Regions from separate parts of the Homo sapiens genome. Here region 1 is linked to region 2. Evidence: promoter capture Hi-C in 16 types of primary human blood cells and fetal thymus (Javierre and others, 2016). All regions are on one chromosome and are shown on one strand. Each heading gives the region's core, a stretch centred on a gene start or on the middle of the fragment in contact. The rest is flanking DNA. Distances are from core to core; before and after follow the strand shown. Region 1 overlaps PHF20 (PHD finger protein 20). Region 2 holds the start of CPNE1 (copine 1).

Evidence for each region. The method cuts DNA at HindIII sites, captures the fragments that hold promoters and counts their contacts. A CHiCAGO score of 5 or more calls a contact.
Region 1: a contact is called between a fragment that was not itself captured here and the fragment with the promoter of CPNE1 in region 2, in 1 of 17 cell types (endothelial precursors). The highest score is 5.3, in endothelial precursors.

The regions. Positions count from the first base shown.
Region 1 is chr20:35,944,484-35,947,183 of GRCh38, reverse strand. The region is part of intron 17 of PHF20 (PHD finger protein 20); the gene reads right to left. Among named protein-coding and RNA genes, the nearest start is that of SCAND1, 8.7 kb to the left of the region's middle. The HindIII fragment of the contact is 1,620 bases long and covers 544-2,163 here.
Region 2 is chr20:35,663,578-35,666,277 of GRCh38, reverse strand. It overlaps CPNE1 (copine 1), which reads left to right and starts at 1,378. Exons shown (of 16, transcript NM_152925.3): 1 at 1,378-1,518. It overlaps RBM12 (RNA binding motif protein 12), which reads left to right and starts at 1,378. Exons shown (of 3, transcript NM_006047.6): 1 at 1,378-1,518. RefSeq lists enhancers at 1,410-1,459, 1,041-1,545, 1,730-1,839, 2,160-2,209, 2,050-2,555 and 1 more and a silencer at 1,517-1,811. The HindIII fragment of the contact is 6,109 bases long and covers 1-2,406 here.

The DNA of each region.
Region 1 (2,700 bases), core at 104-2,603, 280 kb before region 2:
TGCAGCTATTGAGCGCTGGAAACATGGCTAATGCAACTGAGGAACTGAATTTTAAATTTTATTCAGTTTTGGTTAAACAGCCACACATTGCCAGAGGCTACTGTTACCAGAGTCTAGAAGTCTTGGAAGGAAGCACCTTTCTGAGTGTTACCACTCACTCTTTAAAAAGCTTTCCCAGCCGGGCGCGGTGGCACATGCCTATAATCCCAGCACTTTGGGAGGTCGAGGCGGGCAGATCACAAGGTCAAGAGATCAAGACCATCCTGGCCAACATGGTGAAACCCCATCTCCACTAAAAATACAAAAATTAGCCAGGCATGGTGGTGCCCGTCTGTAGTCCCAGCTACTCAGGAAGCTGAGGCAGGAGAATTGCTTGAACCCGGGAGGCGGAGGTCGCAGTGAGCCGAGATCGTGCCACTGCACTCCAGCCTGGCGACAAAGCGAGACTCCATCTCAAAAAATAAAATAAATAAAATAATAAAATAAAATAAAATAAAATAAATAAAATAAAATAAAATAAAATAAAATAAAAAATAAAAAGCTTTCCCATGTTGAAAATCAGAGAGCCTGGTGTTTTAGCATCCTGTCAAGAAAAATGAAAATCTATAGGGTCTTGAAAAGGTCTATTTGTATATCATAAACTCTGATTTGCTTCATATTAATTCCTGATTGATACGCAATCATCAGTGGCACAGAATACTCTGTTATTATTTTCTCCCTTTATTTATTTACTTATTTATTTATTTTTTTGAGATGGAGTCTCACTGTGTCGCCCAGGCTGGAGTGCAGTGGCGCCATCTCAGCTCACTGTAATCTCTGCCTCCTAGGTTCAAGCGATTCTCCTGCCTCAGCCTCCAAAGTAGCTGGGATTACAGGCATGTGCCACCACGCCCGGCGAATTTTTGTATTTTGGTCTCAAACTCCTGACCTCAGGTGATCCACCCACCTCGGCCTCCCAAACTGCTAGGATTACAGGCATGAGCCACTGGGCCTGGCCTTTTTTTTTCTTTTGAGACAGAGTTTCGCTCTTGTTGCCTGGGCTGGAGTACAATGGCAATGATCTCGACTCACTGCAACCTCCGCCTCCCGGGTACAGGCGATTCTCCTGCCTCAGCCTCCTGAGGAGATGGTATTACAGGCACACACCACCACGCCTGGCTAATTTTTGTTATTTTTAGTAGAGATGGGGTTTCATCATGTTGGCCAGGCTGGCCTCGAACTCCTGACCTCAGGTGATCCACCTGCCTTGGCCACTTTGAAAGTGCTAGGATTACAGGCATGAACCACCATGCAGGACCCCTTTAAATATTTAATGTAAGATTTCAGGTATTAATTAACATTATCATCATTGGTTCAATATCTAGAAAGCTGTCTTGCTTGTGAGAACAAGTATTTCTCTACAGAAAGATGTTTGTTCTTCCCTAAGCTACCCCCTAAAGCTCTGGCATTTGGGGAGAGACCATCTGGGAACCCTGCACCTTTGACAAGAACCACCCCCTGCAGGTAGCCCCTGTGCTATCCCAGCCTGCCTGTAGCCTTTCTAGTCCATGCACCAACCTGTACTGAGCACCTTCTGGACCCTGGAGTGCAGCAAAAGAAAGGCCCACCCAGTACCTCTTCATCAAGCAGCCTGCAACCTACTGCGCAATCCTCTCCTGTCCTCAGATGCAGCCCTACCTTCCTCTCCACCTTTCTAAATCCTCTGTTTCTTGTGAGCTATTCTTTAGGGAAGCCTTCCCCAACCCTATACCCTGAATCTGGTCCTTGTGTTACAGGTGCTATGATATCACATGTTCTCCTTTGAGCATTTACTATGGTTTGTCATTACAGGTAATGGGATGATTTGTTTAATATATGTCTCTCCCACTAGATCAAGTTCCACGAGGGCAAAGGCTGAGTCTGCCTTGCTTGCCACTATATCCCTAACACTCACCTGTGTCTGAAATGTGGCAAGCCTGCAACAAACACAGCGAGAGAAGGAATGTGTGGTCCAGCAAAGCGCCCTACCCATTGCTCTGGGCCCTATGTAGTTTATCCTCCTCCATCATATTTCTTGTTGGTATTTGGGGGTTCCAAGAAGGAGGAACCCTCTCTCTTCCTAATTCCAGCAAGTACAAGGACTTGGAAATAAGAAAAATAAGACCACCTCCTCAGACTTAAGCTTGAAAACCATTAGTAAAAGATCAGTCATGTGAGAGGAACTAGTGGCCTGCTGAGCAAGAAAACTGGATAGTGACCAGTTTCAAAACACCAGTAAGTCTTTAAAAAAAACTAGAAGGAGACAGGGGACTGTTCAGCAAACAGGCAGAAGAATAAATGGAGAGGCCGGACGTGCACGCCTGTAATCCCAACACCTTGGGAGGTCAAGGGAGGTGGATCACCTGAGGTCAGAAATTCAAGACAAGCCTGGCCAACATGGTGAAACCCCATCTCTATTAAAAATACAAAATCAGCCAGGTGTGGTGGCAGGCATCTGCCTGCTACTTGGGAGGCTGAGGAAGGAAGAGTCGCTTAAACCTGGGAGGCAGAGGCTTCAGTAAGCCGAGATCATGCCACTGTACTCCAGCCTGGGCGAGAAAGAGCAAGACTCCGTCTTAAAAAAATAAAATAAAATAAAAATAAATAAATGGACAAAAGGCAGTCAGGACTGGATGGGTCACTCCAACAGCAAAGAGAGTCAGTCAATCTTTTGCAAGATGA
Region 2 (2,700 bases), core at 129-2,628:
ACTATAGTGAAGCCGTGGAGGGGTCACGATGGATTTAATTTTTTTTTTTTTTTTGAGACGGAATCTTGCTCTGTCGCCTAGGCTGGAGTGCTATGGCGTTATCTTGGCTCACTGTAACCGCCACCTCCCGGATTCAGGCGATTCTCCTGCCTCAGCCACCCTGGTAGCTGGGACCACAGGCGCCAGCCAGCACGCCCAGCTAATGTTTGTATTTTTAGTAGAGACGAGGTTTCGCCATGTTGGCCATGCTGGTCTTGAACCCCTGACCTCAGGTAATCCGCCCGCCTCGGCTTCCCAAAATGCTGGGATTACAGGCGTGAGCCACTGCGCCCTGCCCTAGATTAAAACTCTTTTTTTGTTTTTTTTTCTGAGACGAAGTTTCGCTTTTGTCATCCAGGGTGGAGTGCAATGGCGCCATCTGGGCTCACTGCAACCTCCACCTCCCGGGTTCAAGCGATTCTCCTGCCTCAGCCTCCCAAGTAGCTGGGACCACAAGCACCGCCACCACACCCAGCTAGTTTTTGTATTTTTAGTAGAGGCTGGGTTTTGCCTTGTTGGCCAGACCGGTCTCGAACTCCTGACCTCATGATCCGCCCTTCTCGGACTCCCAAAGTGCTGGGATTATAGGCGTGAGCCACCGCGCTCGGCCTGTATAAACTTTTTTTTTTTTTTTTTTTTTTTTTGAGATGGAGTCTTGCTCTTTCGCCCAGGCCGGAGTGCAGTGGCGCAATCTCGGCTCACTGCAAGCTCCGCCTCCCAGGTTCACGCTATTCTCCTGCCTCAGCCTCCCGAGTAGCTGGGACTACAGGTGCCCGCCACCACGCCCGGCTAATTTTTTGTATTTTTTAGAAGAGACGGGGTTTCACCGTGTTAGCCAGGATGGTCTCGATCTCCCGACCTCGTGATCCGCCCGCCTCGGCCTCCCAAAGTGCTGGGATTACAGGCGTGAGCCACCGCGCCCGGCCCCCGGCCTGTATAAACTCTTAAATGGGAAAAAAGAATCAGGTTTTGGCTGTTTTGTCAGGATATAATAACTAGCCACCACGTTGTGGTCCATTTAATCCTCAAAAAACTTAGAGGTAAGCACAATTCGCTCCTTCCGCGGAAACTGGAAGACGTGAAGCAATTTGCACAGTCTTGCAGTGAAGGGCCAAGCTAGACACTCATACCCAGCCCACCCGCCAGGGCCACTAGCCCAAGGTCGGTCCTGTGCGCCAACAGTCGCAAGCAGGGACTGAATATCCCCCTCTTAGCACAAAACCCAGTAACTTCCGGGAGATCGCCCGAGACCGTCAGCGCGCTTGCGCGGCCCCTTGACGTCAACCACGCCGTTCCTCCCCCTTCTGGAACGCGGAGCCGCTGAGCGGGCCGACGGCCATTTTGTGAAGCGGCGAAGGAGGTGGTGGCTGCGTTGGGCTCCGGGAAGCCGTTCGGGCTGGGGCTGTCGGCCGCGGGGCGGAGGCACTCGCGCGGGGGGTAATTCGGGGTCTGGGTTCTGGTGCCGCGCAGCTTTCCCCGGTAAGACTCCCGCAGCCCCTGAACGGGTGGGGCTGTGCGGGGCTCGTGGTGCCCCTTGGTGGCCCGGGGCGGGGCCTTCGGAGGCCTTCGAGCCCGCGGCAACTAGCGCCCCACACAAAGGGTCGAGGCAGGGCTGCAGGGGGAGTGGGATGCCACTTAGGCCTCTGAGATCTGAGAGGATGCAAGGAGGACGCAAGAGGATGAGCCTGCGTACCGAAGTGGGGACGAGGCCATAGCGAGGACTCCCCCGTGGTCTGAGAGGGGGCAGGCCAGAGCTGGCTGGCTCAGCGGCCTGCGAGCTAACGGGGACTGCAGTAAAAACACGCCTACATCCCGAGTACGGAGGATTTCTTGTCTCCCCCAGTGAAGCAGAGGTTATAACTACATCTCTGTGCCTGGAGGTGGGGAGATAATCGTAGTGAGGACACTCCTTCAACCCGAAATGGAAAGGAGGCCTTTGTGGCCTACCAGCAAAAGGGGACCCAGGTCACACCTGTGGGGAGGAAGCTGTAGTCGGTACACTCCTGTGAGTTCAGAAAGGAAGTGTCACAACCGGCCGCCTTCGTGGCCTGAAGGTGGAGGGGTTTGCAGTGAAATGCCTCCGAGGTCCATTGCTGGGGAGGGGCTTTACTCGAGGGTGTAGCAGTTTTGAGAAGCCGGCGTCTGAAGCTAGGAGGTGAGGGGGTGGGGTGAGTACGCCTCCTGAGGCTCTGAGAATTGTAGTAAGATGCCAGGCCTTTGGTCCCCCAGTAGGGAAGGGGCTGCTGTGAGCAGCACATTTACGGCTCCCTCGGGAGAGGATCCTGTGGCATTTCAGGAGGACGAGATCCAGTGGGCTGCGGAGGGTGGGTGCTTTTGATGGAGAGTTAATTGAGTTTCTCTGAAGCTTGGCTGCATTAGTTTGCAGCCACGTGAATTGGGTGGTGGGAGGGACTTTGAGGATCTACAGGTTAGTGACGGGGTTGGACGCCAGTGCAGCAGGCTTAGCTGCTAGGTTGTAAACGTACGGGCTTTTTGTGTGCCTCCAACGTGTGCTTTATAGTGACAAATCTGAGGGGCTCTTGTGAGGGTTACTCAGTATTAAGTGCTAAACATTTACTCATCTGCGTGGTGTCATGCTGAGAATTGCAGACTTTAAGAGATTTCTGGGCCCTAAAACCCTCCTTGGCTCCAGGATTCTCA